Regions from separate parts of the Homo sapiens genome. Here regions 1 and 2 are each linked to region 3. Evidence: promoter capture Hi-C in human tissues and cell types (Jung and others, 2019). All regions are on one chromosome and are shown on one strand. The core of a region is centred on a gene start or on the middle of the fragment in contact, and the rest is flanking DNA. Distances in the headings are between cores, read along the strand shown. Region 1 overlaps ANXA7 (annexin A7). Region 2 overlaps PPP3CB (protein phosphatase 3 catalytic subunit beta). Region 3 holds the start of MSS51 (MSS51 mitochondrial translational activator).

Evidence for each region. The method cuts DNA at HindIII sites, captures the fragments that hold promoters and counts their contacts. A contact is called where the count stands out against the background at its distance.
Region 1: a fragment that was not itself captured here is called in contact with the fragment with the promoter of MSS51 in region 3 in 3 of the 25 tissues and cell types used here (adrenal gland, bladder and mesenchymal stem cells).
Region 2: a fragment that was not itself captured here is called in contact with the fragment with the promoter of MSS51 in region 3 in 3 of the 25 tissues and cell types used here (hippocampus, lymphoblastoid cells and mesenchymal stem cells).

Annotation. Positions count from the first base shown.
Region 1 is chr10:73,379,497-73,382,711 of GRCh38, reverse strand. It overlaps ANXA7 (annexin A7), which reads left to right. Exons shown (of 13, transcript NM_001156.5): 10 at 2,511-2,681; 11 at 2,758-2,833. Among named protein-coding and RNA genes, the nearest start is that of CFAP70, 22 kb to the right of the region's middle. The HindIII fragment of the contact is 3,836 bases long and covers 1-3,215 here.
Region 2 is chr10:73,476,488-73,479,603 of GRCh38, reverse strand. It overlaps PPP3CB (protein phosphatase 3 catalytic subunit beta), which reads left to right. Exons shown (of 14, transcript NM_021132.4): 2 at 87-287; 3 at 981-1,105. Among named protein-coding and RNA genes, the nearest start is that of PPP3CB-AS1, 18 kb to the left of the region's middle. RefSeq lists a silencer at 747-947. The HindIII fragment of the contact is 4,697 bases long and covers 1-3,116 here.
Region 3 is chr10:73,432,123-73,435,273 of GRCh38, reverse strand. MSS51 (MSS51 mitochondrial translational activator) reads left to right here and starts at 1,713. Exons shown (of 7, transcript NM_001024593.2): 1 at 1,713-1,761. The HindIII fragment of the contact is 24,221 bases long and covers 1-3,151 here.

The DNA.
Region 1 (3,215 bases), core at 142-2,641, 52 kb after region 3:
GTGCTGGAGAATTGACAGAAAATACTCCAAATAGGGTATTTGGAATGGCATTAGAAACACACTTAGGGCCAGACATTGTGCCTCACACCTGTAATTCCAGCACTTTTGGAGGCCAAGGCAGGAGGATTGCTTGAGGCCAGGAGTTTGAAGCCAGCTTGGGTACCATAGCAAGAAACCATCTCTATAAAAAATATTTTTAAAAATTAGCCGAACATGGTGGTATGTGCCTGTAGTGCCAGCTATTCAGGAAGTTCAGTGGGAGGATCACTTGAGCCCAGGAGATTGAGGCTGCAGTGAACTGTGATCGCACCACTGCATTCCAGCCTGGGCAATAGAGTGAGATCCTGTCCTTAAAAAAAAGAAAAGAAAAAAAGAAAAGAAGCACACTTAGATGATGAAGGTGTATTTGAAAGAGATTATGTAAATGACTAGCATGCTGATTCAATATCAAGAGTTATTGCCTATTGTGCTAGTGCACAAGATTGGACCATCTGGAGGGATCTAAAGGAGAGGAGGGGCTCTTAAGAGCCAAGGGAGGGGCTGGGTGTGGTGGTTCATGTCTGTAATCCCAGTACTTTGGGAGGCTGAGGCGGGTGGATCACCTGAGGTCAGGAGTTTGAGACCAGCCTGACCAACATGGTGAAACTCCATCTCTACTAAATACAAAAAATTAGCCAGGAGTGGTGGCACCTGTAATCCCAGCTACCTGGGAGGCTGAGGCAGCAGAATCGCTTGAACCCGGGAGGCAGAGGTTGCAGTGAGCTGAGATTGTGCCATTGCACTCCAGCCTGGGTAACAAGAGCAAAACTCCATCTAAAAAAAAAAAAAGGGAGGTAGCTGTGGAAAGGATAGTGGATATGGAAATGAGAAAGCAAAGTAAATGGGTTGAAGGAAATTGAATTTACCTAAATCAGAGTAACAGGAGGGCAGTAGGTTAGGATTTAAAAGAAACAAGAAGGAAAACAGACAATGCTAAAAAATGGCTATTAAGATTTTACATGAGGTGCTGAGTCTCTCTTTATGCAGAGTTCAAGGCCCAGCCCTACCTTTTCCAGGGCATGAGTAGAGGAGTAACTTCCTGAGAAAGTGTGTGTGAATCCAAAGGCAATAATCTGGGAAATTTTTTGTGAGTACCTTTTCCTGTGTTATATTCAGTCGCCCATGTAGAATGTGCCTCTACGTATTCCTTGTGCCAGTTGCTCAGAAGACAGTTCTTCAGCTTCAAGGAGGATTTTTCCATCTTATTCCAAAGATGGTCCCTGAGACTCTAAAAGGCAGCCTTTTCTTGTTTGGGTTTGTCTTTCTGTTTTTGAGAGAAACCAACTGCTCATTAAGCTTAAACTCTTCCTTCCTCCTTCCTTTCTTCCTATTCCAGGGAAGAGTGTGGTATACAAATAGGCACAGTCTAACAGAACATGAGTTATTTGTAGCTGCTTCTGTAAAGCTTATGTGTCATTTTTATGCGTGTATTTATGGTAAATACTTACATATTAAGATTATAATTCGATGGCTGAGTGTGGTGGTGTGAGCTTATAGTCCCAGCTACTCTGGAGGCTGAGGTAGGAGGATCACTTGAACCCAGGAGTTTGAGGCTATGATCATGTCTGCAAATAGCCATTGCACCCCAGCCTGGGCAACATAGTGAAATCGTGTCTCTTAAAAAAAAATATTATACTCAGATGAAGAAAAGAAAGTTTATGAAGCCTCCATATTATATCCTCCCTCCCTCCTGCCCTAGAGTTAAATTTCTTGAGGGCAGAGACCCTGTCTCTCCTGTGTCCCTACCGCTTAACACAGTGCCTGACACAAAGAAAGTGCTTAATGTCTCTTAGTCGCATGAATGAATAAAAAGTAGAACTCAGTACAGTGCATATTGATCTTAAATTCCAGCTAAGAGAGCTGTTTCTTCATTTGAGTGGTAGTTAATATCTCCTAGTAGAGATATTTTTGTTTAAACATTTTGGGTTTAATTTAGCTCCCAAAAGCCCTCATTTTTAACATAACCTCATTAAACCGTGATCTTATATTATAAAATCCAGTTGACAGTATAATAAATTACTAGTTATATTTCCATGCATAGAAATGAAGCATATGCATGACAGACATTATGGATTAATCTTTAATAAATTATCTCTTTAGGCCAGGCCCAGTGGCTTACATCTATAATCCCAGCACTTTAGGAGGCTAAGGCAGGAGGATCACTTAAGCCCAGGAGTTAGAGACCAGCACCTGGGCAACATAGTGAGACATGCTGTCTCTACAAAAAATAAAAAAATTAACCAGGCATGGTCGTTTGTGCCTGTAGTCCCAGCTATCTGGGAGGCTGAGGTGGAAGGATCACTTGAGCCTAGGAGGTTGATACTGCACTCCAGCCTGAGTGACAGAGCAAGACCCTATCTCAAAAAAAAAAGAAATAGTCTCTTTAAATCCAAAAGTGAACTAGATTGGAAAAAAAAAATTTAGTAGAACTATTATTTATTTCTTCCAATTCCTGCCTTTCTCTTTTGCAGGGAAATCGTGATGAGAACCAGAGTATAAACCACCAAATGGCTCAGGAAGATGCTCAGCGTCTCTATCAAGCTGGTGAGGGGAGACTAGGGACCGATGAATCTTGCTTTAACATGATCCTTGCCACAAGAAGCTTTCCTCAGCTGAGAGCTACCATGGAGGCTTATTCTAGGGTATGAGCTTTTCTTTTGAAGATTTGGCTTCTGCTGTAAGATACAAAAATATTTAACCCTTTAATTTTGTTTGCAGATGGCTAATCGAGACTTGTTAAGCAGTGTGAGCCGTGAGTTTTCCGGATATGTAGAAAGTGGTTTGAAGACCATCTGTAAGATATTTTTGTGCTTTGCTTTATTTTCTTTTTAAATGAGTGGGAGCTTTGAATAGTTGTTCCCATTAAATGTTGATAATATAGTCCACGTGGAATCTGCTTAGGCAGTAGCTGATCTAATCCTTTGGGGTTTGTTTTTTGTTGTTTGTTTTCTTTATTGGATAAGCCCCCAGAAACAGTCCTGTGTTTTTACATACAATTTCCTATGAATGGTAGTTCTGTGATCAAACAGGGCTGTTTGGGGATTATTTGGCCTTCATCTGTAGGCCTGTCTTGATAACTGTGCCAGAATACCTGATAGTTGTAGCACTTCCTTTAAAGAGAAAGGGAAAGTCCTGAGGAACTCACAGTGTCACCACGAAGCAGTTTGAGTCCTCAA
Region 2 (3,116 bases), core at 261-2,760, 45 kb before region 3:
TTTTAGTCTTATCTAGATCCAATTATTAGTTTTTAAGTTAATGTATTTTTGGTGACTTATCTTTTATTAATTAAAAACATTTGCAGCTGTCCCTTTCCCCCCAACACATCGCTTGACATCTGAAGAAGTATTTGATTTGGATGGGATACCCAGGGTTGATGTTCTGAAGAACCACTTGGTGAAAGAAGGTCGAGTAGATGAAGAAATTGCGCTTAGAATTATCAATGAGGGTGCTGCCATCCTTCGGAGAGAGAAAACCATGATAGAAGTAGAAGCTCCAATCACAGGTAAGCTTATTCATGTTTTGGGTATTATTTTTATTATGTCATTATTTAGTTGCCTGGATTTACAACTTACTGTTTTCAATGATACTGTATGCTAAATCAATATTACTTGGACATTATCTTGAATTTCAAATTATTTTCCATACTTAAAAATGATTGCCTGTTTTCAGTGAATAGACATGATTCTAAATAATCTGAGTGTAGAAGTTAGTCTAATATGCTTTTGTGAAGGTTTCATCAATTGTGTTGACCATACTTCAATTTGATCAATACTTACTTTGCTTTCAATTGTTAGGGTCAAATACCTTGATGTCATATCAGATACCAAAAGTGACCATTTAGAGAGCAACAGAAAGTATTGAGTTAGAATGGATATTTTAACTGCCACCATTGTAATTTTGTCATCTTGAAACTTAAAACACATCCTTGGAGTCCTAGAGACGATCTTTATAAATGTAGATTTCAGTTTGTCACTGACCACAAATTTCGTTATTTCTGTTACATCTTTTTCTAGATCTTGAGCACATGAACACTTGGTTACACATCATCCTAATCATGACTGTTCATAGACTACTTCCTTCTCAGACATTTCTTGATAGCATTTGTACTATGTCTTATGTAAAATACGTTTTAACTTAAGTAAAATTTGTTGTTTTAGAGATTTTTTTCCCTTATCTAATAATCTTCTTGTTTCAGTGTGTGGTGACATCCATGGCCAATTTTTTGATCTGATGAAACTTTTTGAAGTAGGAGGATCACCTGCTAATACACGATACCTTTTTCTTGGCGATTATGTGGACAGAGGTTATTTTAGTATAGAGGTAATAATCATAAACTGTCATTTGATTTGCTGTTAAGTGTTAACACAGATGCTTTCACTTAATCCTAGTTTTCACAAGTACCTGTGTTAGGTTTTTTTAATAACTCTGCATATTCTGAAGTTTTTATGAAAAGCTACTATTTATTCCTGTTCTGTCTTTCAAACAATTCAAATAAATTTCTTTGTATAACTCTGTTTATATAATTATAATTGCCATTTTTTTCCCAGTGGAATTTATGAGCTGACTGAGGGGTCTTTATTGCCCTGTTAACTAGTGGCCTTAAAAATTTAGTGCTATTTATCTCTCTTGCCCCTAAAGGCATTAAACCATGTGAAAAAAGATTACTTGAATTCTGTCTGATTAAATAAAGTATATTGTGATTTTTTTATTGCTTGAGCCCTAGTGCTTCTGTTTCTCCTTGTGTAGCTATTAAGACTCAAGTATATCCTATGGAATCTTTGTGTATTTGGAAAGTATTAATTTGTTTTTAAAAACTTGAGGCATTAAAATGACCTTTTGATTATCACTTAACAGTAGATGGTTCCTTTTCTTCCTTTTTCTCTTTTCTTTTTCTTTTTTTTTGAGACAGGGTCTTACTCTGTGGCCCATGCTGGAGTACAGTGGCACCAGCATGGCTCAATGTAGCCTTGACCTCTTGAGCTTAAGGGATCCTTCTGTCCCAGTCTCTCAAATAGCTGGGACCACAGGTACACACCACCATGCCTAGACTAATTTTTAATTTTTTTGTAGCAATGGAGTTTCCTATGTTGCCCAGGCTGGTCTTGAACTCCTGGGCTCAAGTGATCCTCCTGCCTTGGACTCCCAAAGTGTTGAGATTACAGATGTGAGCCACATTGCCCTGCCATCTTTTTAAATTATATAAACAAAATGCAGCAAATGTAGAACAATATGTATTTTCCAATATATACATTTTTTCTTTTTTTAATGAAAAGGGGATCATATTATAATATTGTCTGTAACTTGCTTTTTCATACATGCCTACACCAAATATCCTTCCAAGTCAGTAAATATAAACTCGTAGCATCATTTTAATATCTACATTGTTTTCCATCTAATAAACAAACCATAATTAATTAATTCCTTGTGTTAGACACTGAAGATGTTCCCAGTTTTTTTCTTTACAAATGATGCTTTAATGAGTCATATTATTCATACATCTTTACATACTTGCCTGATTATTTTTGTAGGACAAATTCCTAGAGGTAGAATTGTGGGGTCAAATTTCTACCAATAGATACCTGTGTTGCACATTTAATATGTTCTAAGCATGTTCTAGGCACTGAAGACATATCGATTAATCCTCACAATAATATTAATGAGGTAAGTACTGTTGTTTTATTCATTTTATAGATGAGGAACCTGAGGCTTAGAGAGGTTAAGTAACTTGCCCAAGGTATTATTAGTAAACAGCATAGCCAGGCAATGTGACTCCCAGCATATGCTTTTAACCACCTTCCCTAGTAGATACTGAAACCTTACCTGGTGAATTTATGTTGGTTACTGTTGTTTATATCTCCTTCTCCAGTGTTTCCAATATACCTTTTTTTCTGAGGTGTGCTAGGATTCTCAGAGTGGAAGGAAGTTCTAGACTCTGTCTGTCCTGCTTCCCTTAGGAATTTTGCTATTTTGAGTTCTTCTTCCTCCTGCTGATAGTTGATTATTAGCCTCGTCAACTTTTCCCAAATTGTCACAGGGCTTCAGGCAAATCAGAAAATGGCCCATTTTAACAAAAAAATTTCAGGCATTTGACCAAAACAATAAAATAAACAGTTTTATGAAGCTTATTTGGTAACTAAGTTGGTGTGCATGTCCTTGTGTAAGATTGTTTTGCAGCTGACTCTTTTTTTTTTTTTTTTTAATTGAGATGGACTCTCACTCTGTCGCCCAGGCTGGAGTGTAGTGGCGTGATCTCGGCTCACTGCAACCTCTGCCTCCCAGGTTCAAGAGATTCTCCTGCCTCAGCCTCCCAAGTAGTTGGGATTACAGGTGC
Region 3 (3,151 bases), core at 464-2,963:
GAGAAAGGAACCAAACTCAGGAAAAGCAAAATACCTGAAGAGTGATAAAGTATCACATAGTGCCTCACAGACCACTTCCTACATGTTGAATAGGAACCTCTTTCTAGTCTTTCTTCATAATTCATTTCACAGCATACCATTTATTAAGATTTTTTAAATGCAACTCATGATGAATACAAATTGTGAAAAGTTCAGACTTCGTAACTTTAAATGTTTACCAGAGCAAGTCATAGTGATAGTAAAATATAAGTATTCAACATCAAAGTTTTTCTATATTACTATTCTCCTTTATATTCATTGACAACTTCTGAATTAGAAAAGTCAATCTCTGATGTCTTGTATCTTCTGCAGTTCAGCCATTATTAACAGAACTCAAAACATTTGAGGTTCTCAGATAAATTTTGAAGCCTGTTAAATTTGAAGTTGGCCTGAAACTTTTGCACAAAGTGAATTACCCCTATTTTATTTAGGGTTTTTGCCTATTGCAACTGATTTTCCTTTATCCACAGCTATTCTACATAATGTTATGCAGTGTTTGGTTGAATCCTTAACACTTTTCTTCCACCTTCCCTGCATGTAGTTTGTACTTTTTACAGTTTGGGGTTCCTGTGTGGATTTGATTTGCCACATTCCGGGACCTCATTGCGAGTGATTCTGTTCCCCAGTTTGATGATGTTCAAAGAAGCAGGTAAGTGAGAGCTGGGGTCAGATATAAGCAGAAAGTCAGAACTTTTTTATTTAAAAATTTTAAAAAAATTTTTTGAGGGTAAGAAAGATCTTGCAGTCTTTTAGGACCACTGCCCTAACAACTTCAGATAGGCTAGCTGTAAGTAGAAAGAAGCTAGGACTGTGGAATTGAATTTCCTGGATCAGCTGCAATTACAAGGAGGATAAGAGAATGGTTGAGCTGATTCTTTTCTATTTTCTTTTCCTAGAAATAGTATGTATTTTTAGTCATTAACTAGTATTTTGGTTTTGTTTAATATCCCAGAAGCATTTATTCCTCTCTTAATACAGGTAAAGTGCTCCTGATGACTCTCTCACTCAGAGAGTTATCTTACCCTTCTTTCAGGGAAAGTGAATTTTACAAGTTAATTCTGCATGTTTCCCCTACAACTGATTTCATTCTGTACCATTAAATGGCCATTTATTTTCTCCCTTCTACTTAATCCAAGATTGGACATTGTTGAGTTTTGTTTGAACAATGTTTGTTATGCTGAAAAAGGACACCAGGCCTGGGGGAACTCATCCTGTGTCTAGATCAACAAACAGAACTCCAGAGGGTCCTCTGGTTCCTCCCACTTGGTTGGAAAGGTGCTTACCCTTTCCAATCAAATATTGACTTCTGCACTAATCCAAAGGGTTTTCTTCTGAAGCTGTAAACTGAGAACAGAAATATTGCCTTGAGTGAGAGAAGTCTAGGAAGCAGCAGGTTTCATTTTTTGTCAGCCTGCCTGGCCTTTACTTGGCTAACACTTGGGAGTGTTGACAGTCCTGAGCCCCCTTGGCAGAGAACAAAGGTTAGAGAGAAGCCCTCAGGCAGGGGGACAGATCCCTCTTTGCCTCATTAGGGAGAATTCAGCCTTGTCTGTCTGGTTGGCAGGGCACACTTAATCACTGAGACTCAGCATTTCAGCAGTTTGCAAAGGAAAGTGATATGAAGGGACAGCTGCAAGTAAGCCACAACCTAGATCTGAAGAGATCAAGCACTCATTTCACTTGGAGGAAAGAGAGAAGGAAGGAAGCTGAGGACTTAGCAGGGTAAGTTTTTTTTTCCGTCAACCTGTCTGCTTGCTTAGTTTATAATTGAGTAAAGTATTTATCACCCCAGGCAGTGTTAATCACTGATTAAACAGCTGAATGTGGCCATAATTACAGTGTCCTTAATGTATTTCTCCTTCTCTTTTCCTACCCCCTTATAAGGATCTCCAATGACCAGTTTCAGTCTTCCTTCTCCCTACCTCTCCAAAGACGTTTTGCATTTTTTGGTGACTTACAGAAAATTAGATGAGCACTCCTTATCTGGAGATAGTGAAAATATGACTGTAGTTTAGGTGAAACTTGGGACTCTTGGTGGTAAAGAAGAAGATGGGAAACCTAGGTCTAGGAATAGATTAATATTTTGTCTTGAATTTGGACATGAAGGATAAAAGTTTTTCTAGGCAATCAAGATCATGTCTCCTCTCCAGTTCTTGGTGTTGGTGTTCTCTCTCTTATACTGGGACTAAATTAGAGCCTAAGTCACTGGGGATGGCTAGAAAAAAATGAAAGGGATTCCCTTTCTAAGTGGAGAGCATTCTAGACTCTGGAAAGTTCAAAGAGCTTACTGCAATTCTTTCCAGCTTCTCCTGTGAGTCCCCTGTTTTTTCCTTTGTTTCTCTCAGTTTATAACCTGTGAACAGGGAGTAGCCTGGGGCTCTTTACAGGAGATTTAGAACCAGGGAAGCTGTGTCTGGGCCTGGGGTATATAAACTCAAACATGAACCTGATGATGTATATAGATGCAGATCAAAGACCTGGCTTCTCACCCACCTTCTTTCTTTTCTGCCAGAAAGCTAACTCATTTGTATCATGAACATTGTGCTCTAGACACAGAGGAGACTGTGACATTAGGGATTTTTACCACCACTCCTCTTCCTCAAACTGTGTGATCCTTTTGCTTTCTGACCAGTTCAGCCAACTCCCAGATTGCCAAGAGCTAATCTTCCTTTAGAGGAAGACCTCACCTTGGAAATGCGGAAAAGTAAAGCAGTACCTTTCTGACCTTAAGTGGCTTGCTTCCATTGCAGCAAAAAGGCTTATGTTTTAACTTCAGGGAGATATCTATTATAAATTCTGGGATTTAAGACCCTAGAGTTGTCTCAAATCACACTTTCCTTCCATACCTATTTAAAAAAAAAAAAGTCATTCTTTCAAGGTTTAAGAAAGTGGTGTCTTGGCCGGGCGCCGTGGCTCATGCCTGTAATCCCAGCACTTTGGGAGGTCGAGGTGGGTGGATCACGAGGTCAGGAGTTCGAGACCAGCCTGACCAACATGGTGAAACCCCATCTCTACTAAAAATACAAAAATTAGCTGGGCATGGTGGCGCGAGCCTGTAATCCCAGCTACTCAGGAGGCTGAGGCAGGAGAATCACTTGAACCCGGGAGGTGG